Linked DNA regions of Homo sapiens: regions 1 and 3 are each linked to region 2. Evidence: promoter capture Hi-C in 16 types of primary human blood cells and fetal thymus (Javierre and others, 2016). All regions are on one chromosome and are shown on one strand. Each heading gives the region's core, a stretch centred on a gene start or on the middle of the fragment in contact. The rest is flanking DNA. Distances are from core to core; before and after follow the strand shown. Region 1 has its middle 18 kb from the start of SBK1. Region 2 holds the start of NPIPB7 (nuclear pore complex interacting protein family member B7). Region 3 has its middle 12 kb from the start of SULT1A1.

Region 1 (3,490 bases), core at 946-3,445, 200 kb before region 2:
GGATTCCAGGTGTGAGCCCCTGGTACAGAGTTACACAGCAGCTCTTTAGAGCTTATTCATCTTGCTTTATTGAATCTTTATGCCTACTGATGAGCTATTCCCCAATTTCTTCTGCAACTCTGACAACTATAGAACCAAAATCTAGGAATTAGACTTCTTTAGATATCCCATATAAGTGGAATTATGAGATATGTGTCCTTCTGTGGCTTATTTTGCTTTGCATAATGTCCTTGAGTTTCATCTATGTTGTCACATATTTTTTTTCTTTCTTTCTTTCTTTCTTTTTTTTTTTTTTTTTTTTGAGACGGAGTCTCACTCTGTCACCCAGGCTGGAGTGCAGTGGCATGATCTTGGCTCACTGCAACCTCTGCCTCCCAGGTTCAAGCGATTCTTCTGCCTCAGCCCCCTGAGTAGCTGGGACTACAGGCATGCCCCACCACGCCTGGCTAATTTTTGTATTTTTAGTAGAGATAGGGTTTCACCATATTGGCCAGGCTGGTCTCGAACTCCTGACCTTGTGATCCACCCACTTCGGCCTCCCAAAGTGCTGGGATTACAGGCGTGAGCCACCATGCCTGGCCTGTCATCGCATATTTTTAAGGCTTAATTGTAGTAGTCCCTGTTGCATGTATAGATCACATTTTTTTCATCCATTCAACCCATTTGGGTTATTTCTACATTTGGCTATTGTGAATATTGTTGTAAAGAACACAGGAGTGCTAATACCATTTTGAGAATTATTTTTTTCTTTTTTTAGAGACAGGGTCTCATTATGTTGCCCAGGCTGGTCTCGAACTCATGGCCTCAAGCAGTCCCTTCACTTTGAACTCCCAAAGTGCTGGATTAAAGGTGTGAGCCACCGCACCTGGCCTCTCTTTCAGATTTTTTTTTTTTCTTTTGAGACAGAGTTTCTTTCTTATTGACCAAGCTAGAGTGCAATGGCGCAGTCTCGGCTCACTGCAACTTCCGCCTCCTGGGTTCAAGCAATTCTCCTGCCCCAGGCTCCCAAGTAGCTGAGATTACAGGCGTGAGCCCCCATGCCCAGCTAATTTTTGTATTTTTAGTAGAGATGGGGTTTCACCATTTTGGCCAGGCTGGTCTCAACAAACTCTTGACCTCAGGTGATCCGCCTGCCTCGGCCTCCCAAAGTGCTGGGATTACAGGCATGAGCCACCATGCCCGGCCATAGGTTGTCTTTTCACTGTGTAGATTGTTTCTTTTGCTAAGCAGAAGCTTTTTAGTTTGATGTAGTCCCACTTGTCCATTTCATTTTTTTGTAGAGATGGGGTTATGCCGTGTTACCCAGGCTGGTCTTAAACTCCTGAGCTCAAGCAGTCCACCCACCTTGGCCTCCCACAGTGCTGGGATTCCAGGCGAGAGTCCCTGCGCCCAGCCCCACTTGTCTATTCTTGTTTTTGCTGCCTGTTTTTGGTGTCTTATCTGCACATGAATATTTATAGCAGCTTTATTCATAATTGCCAAAACTTGGAAGAAACCACAATGACAATGTCCTTCTATAGGTACACCCATACAATGGAACATTCAGTGATAAAATGAGCCATCAAGCCACCCAAAAGACACAGAGGAACCTTAAATGTGTATTGCTACGTGAAAGAAGCCAGTCTGAAAAGTACTATCTGACTCCAGTGATATGACATTCTGGAAAAACCAAAACTAAAGAGAATAAAAAGATCAGTGGTTGCCAGGGGGCTGGCGGGAGAGAGGGAGGGATGAAGAGGTACAGCATGGTGGATTTTTAGGGCAGTGAAACTATTCTGTATGATACTGGGAGGGTGGACCTGTAACATACATTTGTCAAAACCCATGGAACTCTACAAAACAAAGAATGAGCCCCGATGATGTAACATATGAACTTTAGTTAGCAACTATGTATCAATCTTGGTTCATCAGTTTTAACAAGTGCACCACGCTGATACAAGATGTTAATGGTAGGAGAAATTTGTTGGGAGGAGAGGAAGTATACTACAAAACTGAAAGTCTCTTGGTCAATTCAAACGCGTTCTGCTCAGGCCAGGTGCGATGGCTCACACATGTAATCCCAGCACTTTGGGATGCCGAGGAAGGCAGAGCACCCGAGGTCTGGAGTCCAAGACCAGCCTGGCCAACATGGTGAAACCCCGTCTCTACTAAAAATACAAAAAAATTAGCCAGGCATGGTGGTGGGTGCCTGTAATCCCAGCTATTCGGGAGGCTGAGGCAGGAGAATCGCTTGAACCCAGGAGGCGGAGGTTGCAGTGAGCCGAGATCGAGCCACTGCACTCCAGCCTGGGTGAGAGAGTGAGACTCTGTCTCAAAAAATAAAAAGAAACACGTTCTGCTCAATTGTTCTGTAAGCCTAAAACTACTCTAAAATATAAAGCCTATTATTGAAAAAAAAAGAAAGGAATCATAGTGTTCCACACAGAGCTGTAAATAACGTTTCCACAATATGTAAACATTTCCAGTCTTACCAATGTTATAATGCAACTGTAATGTGAGGGGGGATAGGATGTGGGAGTGGGTGGGAGAGGGAGTGGTTGGACATAAGGAGCTAAATCCTCTTCTCCCAAAGTGGGAGGTTGGTAAGGAATGCCTAAAACTGGAAAAGAAGCAATGTAAACATGGTATGTAGGAAATGTGGAGGTAAAAATGACTAATCACGAGCTAAAAGAGTTGAGATGGTTGTCCTTATGAAGTGGGAAAAGGGGCCGGGCGTGGTGGCTCACGCTGTAACCCCAGCACTTTGGGAGGCCGAGGCAGGAGGATCTCTAGAGGGCTGAAGTTCGAAACCAGCCTGGGCAATATAGTGAGACCCTCCCCCATCTCTACAAAAAATTACAAATTAGCCAGTCACTGGGGCTTGTGCCTGTGGTCCCAGCTACACAGGAGGCTGAGGCGGGAGGATTGCTACAGTGAGCCGTGATCACACCAATGCACACCAGCCTGGGTGACAGAGCGAGACTCCATCTCTTAAAAAATAAGTGAGAAATGGGGGTGAGGCTGCCCCTGTGCGTTGATTCTAAACAATGGGCATATCTAACTTGAATACAAATTAAAAGTATATTTTCTATATGTATATAAGAAGAGAAGAAATAATAAGAACAAACAAAAGAGACTGGGAAGTTGCAGAGCAGAGAGAAGGAAGCCAGTTCCATCAAGAAGCTTTGTTCGGGGGCCCAGAAATGGCTCAAGACGTGGGTCAGGAGGAGACGCCAGAGCCTTGGTGCCCACAAGAAAGTCCTGGAAAAAGAATGAGGGGGTCCCGGTGCAGTGGCTCATGTCTGTAATTCCAGCACTTTGAGAGGCCAAGGCAGGTGGATCGTTTGAGCCCAGGAGTTCAAGACCAGCCTTGGCAACATGACGAAACCCTGAGTCTACAAAAAATAAGAAAATTAGCCAACCATGGTGCATACCTGTAGTAACAGCTACTCAGGAGGCTGAGGTGGGAGGATCGCTTAAGTCCAGGAGTTAGAGGCTGCAGTGAGCTATC
Region 2 (3,598 bases), core at 648-3,147:
GTCCTGATCCTTTCAGGGTGCCCTGAGGCGGCCAGGACAGAGGTGGAGGTGGCTTAGGGCAGGGGGGAGGGAAGGGGACGGGGACCGGGGCCGGATCTGAGTTGGGGCGGGGGAGGGGAGGGGGAGGGGAAGGGGAGGGGGAGGGGAAGGGGAGGGGGAGGGGAAGGGGAAGGGGAGGGGAAGGGGAGGGGAGGGGGAGGGGAAGGGGAGGGGAAGGGGGGAAGTAAGGGAAGGGAAAGGAGGAGAAGGGGGCTGTTGGGCACCTGGAGGAGGTGGAGGAGGAGAAGAAGAAAGGGGTCTGGGAAAGGATCCGGTTCAAATTAAGTTCTCAAGCGCTGGTGGAAGGTTTAGCTACAGGTCACGGAGAAGATCAGGGAAGCAACAGGACACGCGGGGCAAGGGAGCGTGAGGCTTAGGAGCAATTAGAGGGAGACAAAAAGGTTCTGCTATCCGCCAAACCTTCTTCGGTCTGGGCCCTCCCTTAGCAAACCTGGGGCTTTATACTCCCTCTCCACCAATCCCTGATGACCCCGGTGGTGCCTCACAATGGACAATGCCAAGTAGCGCCCGCATCATTCCAATGACCCCTCCCCCATCTCAGTCTCCCACACTCCTCGCAAGGACAGGTCCTCTCTGGAACCTTCACAAACCTGATTTCTGGTCCTCCCCAACCAGCTCCCTGTCCCTGCTTCTGGGCGCTCCTTCCTTCCTGAGCTCCCAGGGTTCCTCAAGGTCACTTTTGGCGACAAAACATAAAAAACAAATGATGGCAGGATGGCAGGAAGAACCTCATACCCAAGCAGAGTGCCAGGTTTTACAGCCTCCGCTCAGCCATTCATATCCTAAGCAACAAAACATCAGCAGGATGCGGAAGGTCCCGATAGTAAACCATCTCCATCACATCCATGTAGCCATCCGTCCATCAACCCGTATCTCAGGAACAAATGTAGATACATTCATTTTAAGCAAGCATGGTACATTTACAAAAATTAACCTGACTTATTTTGTTCCAGCAAATCTCAATATATTTGAGAGCAATCAAATCACACAGCACGTTTCTGATCATATAACTGTGCTAGAAGTCAATGATTAAAAGCTAATTCAAAATTATTATTTGCTTGGAAATTCAAAGTGCCCTTATAAGACATAAACATAAGAAAGAATCCAAAATGAAACAAGATTGCCTTTCAACTCAATGATAAGATCATAACATGGCAATAAAATGTCTCCCTCTGGCCTGGGAATTCCTCTTTGTGGCACAAGGTTGTGTGATCTCAAATCACCCCTAACCCACCTAGACAATTTAACATCCGAAACCGAGTGATGATGTCCTTATCTATAATCATCTTACTGCCTGTGTGTGTGGACTTTAAATTCTGAACCCAAATGAGGGGGAGAAAACCAAGTTGACCTTCATGATTGACCTCTCAGGGATGTCCAAGGAATCTGTGCATGGTGGCACCTGCCTGTAGTCCCAGATACTTGGTAGGCTGAGGCAGGAGAATCACTTGAACCTGGAAGATGGAGTTTGCAGTGAGCTGAGATAGTGCCACTGCACTCCAGTCTGAGCAACAGAGCGAGACTCCGTCTCCAAAAAAAAAAAGTTGGAGGATTCACATTTCCTATTTTCAAAAGCTCACTACAAAGCTATAGTAATTAAGACAGTGTTGTATTGGTGTAAGAATAAACCTGGGTCTGGTGCAGTGGCCCACGCCTGTAATCCCAGTATCTCTGGAGGTCAAGGTGGGCAGATCATTTGAGCTGAGGAGTTTGAGACCAGACTGGGCAACATAGTGAGACACCGTCTCTACCAAAAAAATGTACAAAAGGTAGCTGGGTGTGGTGGCTAATTGGGAGGCTGAGGCAGAGGAGCCCAGGAGTTCAAGGTTACGGTGAGCTATGATCACGCCACTTCACTCCATCCTGGGTGACAAAAACCCTGTCTCTAAACAAAATAAAAAATAAAAGTAAAAATAAAGTTAGCAGTTAGGGTCTACTATGTTAACTTTTTTCTGCACAGACTGCTGTATCACACCACCTGCAAAAAAGTTAATTCAAAATGAAAACAAGATCTAAATGTAAGAGCTAAAACTATAAAACTCTTAGAAGAAAATGTAGGAGGCTGGGCGCGCTGGTTCACGCCTGTAATCCCAGCACTTTGGGAGGCCGAGGTGGGCGGATCACTTGAGGTCAGGAGTTTGAGGCCAGCCTGGCCAACACGGTGAAACCCCGCCTCTATTAAAAATATAAAAAATTAGCTGGGTGTGGTGGCACACCCTTGTAATCCCCGCTACTCAGGAGGCTGAGGCAGGAGAATCGCTTGAACCCGGGAGTCTGGGCAAAAAGAATGAAACTCTGTTTCAAAAAAAAAAAAAAAAAAAAAGGAGATGGGGTTTCACCGTGTTAGGCAGGATGGTCTCGATCTCCTGACCTCGTGATCTGCCCGCCTCAGCCTCCCAAAGTGCTGGGATTACAGGCGTGAGCCACTGCACCCCGCCCCTCTTTGTTTGTTTTTTAAGAGATAGGGTCTTGCTCTGTGCCCACATTGGGGTGCAGTGGTATGATCATAGCTCACTGCAGCCTCGAATTCCTAGGCTCAAGTGATCCTCCCACTTCAGCCTCCAGAGTAGCTGGGAGTACAGGCACGCAGCACTACACCTGGCTTATTTTATTTTTATTTTTTGAGACAGGGTTTCATTCCTGTCACCCAGGCTGGAGTGCAATGGTTCAATCTCAGCTCACTACAACCTCCACCTCTCGGGCTCAAGCAATTCTCCCGCCTCAGCCTCCCAAGTAGCTGGGACTACAGGCATACCTTGCCAGGATAATTTTTTCTTTTTTCTTTTTTTGCCATGATGCCCAGACTGGTCTTGAACTCCTGGCCCAAGTTGTCCTCCTGCCTCCCAGAATGCTGGGATTATAGGCATGAGCCACCACGCCCGGCCTCCTTTTATCATTATTTTAATTTTTTATAGAGATAGAACCTTGCAATGTTGCTCATGCTGGTCTTGAACTCCTGGTCTCAAGCAAACCTCCCGCCTTGGCCTCCCAAAGTGCTGGGATTACAGGCATGAGCCACTGCACCTGGCTCCCACTTAGATATGTTACCAGAAGCACAAGCAACCAAACAAAAAATAGATAAATTGGACTTCATCAAAATAAGTGTCTTTCCGTACCAAAAGACAATATCAAAAAAGTAAAAAGACAACACAGAATGGGAGAAAATATTTGCAAATCATGTATCTTATAAGGGACTTCTGTCTAGAATATATGAAGAAATCTTACAACTCAAAAAGACTTCAGATCTCTGGCTCTTTAATAAAAAAAGACAATCCCATTTAAAAATGGGCAAAGGATCTGAGAAGACATTTCTCAAAGAACTATATGTACGGTCAATAAGGACATGAAAAGATGCTCAGCATCATTAGTCACCAGGGACATGCAAATCAAAACCACAGTGAGATACCACTTCACACTCACTAGAAAGGCTATAATAAAAACCAAACCAGACAACCAAAGGAAAAAAAAAAAACAAAAACGGAAAAGAGGCTGGGCACGGTGGCTCATGCCTGTAATCCCAGCACTCTGGGAGGCCAAG
Region 3 (3,707 bases), core at 1,169-3,668, 150 kb after region 2:
TGGAGGCTACAGTGAGCTGTGATCATGCCACTGCACTCCAGTCTGGACAACATAGCAAGACCCTGTCTCAAAAAAAAAAAAAAAAAAAAGAACATAGTCTCCACTCTAAAACTAGAAAATTTTAAAGGAATGATAAATATGATGTGAGAATAGCAGAATATAAAAGTTATAGCAGAACAATTATTTTTTCAAAAACTATAACAATTCACAAAAACAATCCAGTTACAATAGTGGGTCTATTGGTTACTTTTCTCTACCTTCCAAACATTTTGTGAAAAGTTGAACATTTGGACATTTTGAAATTTTAATTTCTATCTTTTAAAAAAAGCTAGTGGGCTGGGCACGGTGGCTCATGCCTGTAATCCCAGCACTTTGGGAAGTTGAGGCGAGCGGATCACCTGAGGTCAGGAGTTCGAGACCAGCCTGACCAACACGGAGAAACCCCGTCTCTACTAAAAATACAAAATTAGCTGGGTGTGGTGGCGCATGCCTGTAATCCCAGCTTCTCGAGAAGCTGAGGCAGAAGGATCACTTGAACCCAGAAAGTGGAGGTTGCAGTGAGCTGAGATCGGGCCAATGCACATTCCAGCCAGGATGATAAAGCGAGACTCTGTCTCCCAAAAAAAAAAAGAAAAGAAAAAGAGAACAATTTCACTAATTTCACTAGTTGTTTCCTCATTTGTAACATGAGAGTAATAAGAACAATCTCAGGTGCGAGGGCTCACGTCTGTGATCCCAGCACTTTGGGAGGCCATGATGGGCAGATTACTTGAGTTCAGGAGTTCGAGACGACCCTGGCAAACATGGTGAAACTTTGTCTCCATTAAAAATGCAAAAATTAGCCGGGCATGGTGGTGTGCATCTGTAATGCCAGCTACTTGGTAGGCTGAGGCAGGAGGATCGCTTGAACCTGAAGATGGAGGTTTCAATGAGCTGAGATCAGGCCACTGCACACTCCAGGCTGGGCAATAAAACAAGACTCTGTCTCAAAAAAAAAAAAAAAAAAAAAAAAAAGAAGAAGAAGAAGAAGAAGAAAAGAAAAAGAGAACAATCTCACTAGTTTTTTGAGGATTAAATAGCATTCTGGTCCCCTACCCCTTCACCGCTGTACAAGACTTCTTTAACAGTTGCTAGGAAGCTGTTTGCAAATCTAGTCTGCAAATCACACGCCGGGACCAGGCACAGACCTTCTGATAAAACAGGAGGCCCTAGCTCCCCGGCTGTCTGTTCTCCTGACCCACTGACCCCGTCAGGCTTAAGACCCATAGAGATTTTCTCCCCAGTTACCCACCCCATCCCCTTCAAGGCTATAGAAATTGCAATGATGATAGAGGCCACAGGGACCCTCCTGTGAGCAGATGGAGGATCTCCAAAGATTACAAGAATTTAACCAACTTGAGTGATCAGCCTGTTTTACAGCCTCCTGACCTCAACCTGTTCTTCCCCAGCCCTGGGTGGAATGAGGTCACCCTGTTTGTTTAAATCAGCTCCTAAATGACCCCAGGTTACTTACAGATGAACCCAAGTTAACTCTCCTCATTACCATGCTAAAGTCTTCACCCCGGGAGAAGCTATAGCTTCATGACTATAACCTATGCAACCTATGCGCTAGCATCATGACTCACTGGGACCCCTACTCTACATGCAATCATGCACCCTCTCCTTTCTCCATCACCCCATAAAACCCTCCTGTCTCTTTCTCTGGGGGACACACTACTTGGGAGAATATGCCCAGTGTCTTCCTTTCTTGTGCCAAGTAAAACTCCCATTGATCAAAACCCGCCTCTTGGTGGAGTCATTTGTGACTCGTTAAGGGAATGAACCCCGGTATTTTTCAGGTAACATTTCCATTGTTCTTATTGTACGCAGTAGAGAAGGTTTCCACAGTCAAGCCCCTGTCCCCCACACCCCAGGCCCGGGTCGGATTTTCTAAGGAGAGGGTTCCCTGAACCCTCACAGGTATATAGTCCTCTATGGCAAGGATCCAAGGTCCCTTGATGTTTTCCGTGAGACCCCAGGGGAAAATCTTGTTACCAAAGCAGGACTAGGCCCCTGGGCATGAATTTGCTGAAGATCCAGGCCCAACCTCAGATTCCACCTGCTCTGCCCCCCAGGGTCACGGGTCCCCTTGCATTTTGTTCCTGTGTTGGCCCCGGGGCCCCAGGCGTGGATTTTCTGAACAGCAGGTCGGTTCCTTCCCTGTCCCACGATTGGTTCACGGTCATTGCAGCTGCTATGGCCTTGAACTGGGATCTCCTTTATTTTCCCGTGGGCCTTTTTCAGGGGGCAAAGACCTCCGCAGCCCTGCCTACCTCCAGCCTTGGCCTACACCCAACCCCAGAGTCTGAGCCCCGACCCTAGTCCTCTAAATTCCTGACCTGCTGTACCTCTGGCTCCCCAATTTCTCGGCTCCCCAGCCAGTGCCTCCTGCAACTTCTCGCAATCAAACACCCCAGCCTCCAGCCTTTGCCCTGGCCCTTCAGGCCTCTGAAGCAGCTCCGGTCTCAGAGCCCCGGCTCCTGCCCGGGTCCCCAGGCTCCTGCAGCGCCCTCCCTCCAGCCGCTTGATCCCCAAGTCCCTGCCTCCAGTCCCCCAATACTGGTCCCACCCCCCAGGTTCCCCCCCCGGCCCCTCACCGGCGTAGAAGGCCGAGACCGCGATGGGCGCACCGACCACCTGGTCGCACAGCAACTTGGCCAGCATGGCGCGCGGCGCTCGGCCCGGGAGCGCGCGCTCCAGCAGGCCCAGCCACACGTAGTTGAAGTTGGCGTGGAAGGTCACCACCAACGTGGCCACGCGCCGCGTCTGGCGCCAGTCGGCCTAGCGGCCCTGCAGCCGTTGCTGCAGCACGTCCCCGGCGGAGACGAGCGAGCTACGGCACGCTCGTAGAGCGTAGAGCTACGTTGCTCGAGCAACGTAGAGCAGCACGTTGGTGGGCCACGGGTGGCGCCGGGCCGTGCGCGACAACGCCGGCCACCAGCCCGCCATGTCCGCGCTGTGGGCGCCCGCGATCAGGAGCCCGCGTGGTCGGAGGCTTCCTGCACCGCCTCCGGGCCTCGCCAGCCTCCAGCAGCTACTGCGCTGCAGCAGCCGGCACCTGCACCTGCCTCCTCCAGGAGCTCCTGAGCGGTTGGGCGCCCCGCGCACACCCAGCTCGTGCCGTCCAATCCGGAGGCCACGGGCCGTCGTGGGGGCTGAACGTTTGAAAGGTGCCCGGCCCACCCCCATGCATGGGTCCGTTGACACAAAATACCCAGAATAGGCAAAGCCACAGAGGCAGAAGGCATGGGGTTATTTATTTATTTATTTATTTTATTTTTATTAATTAATTAGATATTTTTGAGACGGAGTCTCGCTCTGTCGCCCAGGCTGGAGTGCAGTGGGGCGATCTGGGCTCACTGCAACCTCCGCCTCCCGGGTTCAAGCGATTCTCCTGCCTCAGCCTCCCGAGCAGCTGGGACTACACGCGTGCGCCATCACGCCCGACTAATTTTTGTATTTTTAGTGGAGACGGGGTTTCAATATGTTGGCCAGGCTGGTCTCGAGTGATCTGCCCGCCGCGGCCTCCCATATGGGGTTATTTTTTGGAGTGATGAAAACATTTTGAAATTAGATAGGTGTGATGGTTCCATGACTTTGTGAATATATTAAAAACCATTGAATTGTACACTTGAAAAAAGGAGGTGCATTTGGCCGGGTGCGGTGGC

Evidence for each region. The method cuts DNA at HindIII sites, captures the fragments that hold promoters and counts their contacts. A CHiCAGO score of 5 or more calls a contact.
Region 1: a contact is called between a fragment that was not itself captured here and the fragment with the promoter of NPIPB7 in region 2, in 1 of 17 cell types (naive CD8 T cells). The highest score is 7.2, in naive CD8 T cells.
Region 3: a fragment that was not itself captured here is called in contact with the fragment with the promoter of NPIPB7 in region 2 in 1 of 17 cell types (neutrophils); the score reaches 6.7 in neutrophils.

Annotation. Positions count from the first base shown.
Region 1 is chr16:28,272,339-28,275,828 of GRCh38, forward strand. It overlaps a transcript of SBK1 not described here. Among named protein-coding and RNA genes, the nearest start is that of SBK1, 18 kb to the right of the region's middle. The HindIII fragment of the contact is 1,929 bases long and covers 1,232-3,160 here.
Region 2 is chr16:28,470,439-28,474,036 of GRCh38, forward strand. It overlaps NPIPB7 (nuclear pore complex interacting protein family member B7), which reads right to left and starts at 1,898. Exons shown (of 7, transcript NM_001396030.1): 1 at 1-1,898. It also overlaps a transcript of CLN3 not described here. RefSeq lists a silencer at 3,388-3,457. The HindIII fragment of the contact is 21,132 bases long and covers 1-3,598 here.
Region 3 is chr16:28,620,495-28,624,201 of GRCh38, forward strand. It overlaps a transcript of SULT1A1 not described here. Among named protein-coding and RNA genes, the nearest start is that of SULT1A1, 12 kb to the left of the region's middle. RefSeq lists an enhancer at 2,689-2,818 and silencers at 2,909-2,958, 3,009-3,178. The HindIII fragment of the contact is 9,807 bases long and covers 1-3,707 here.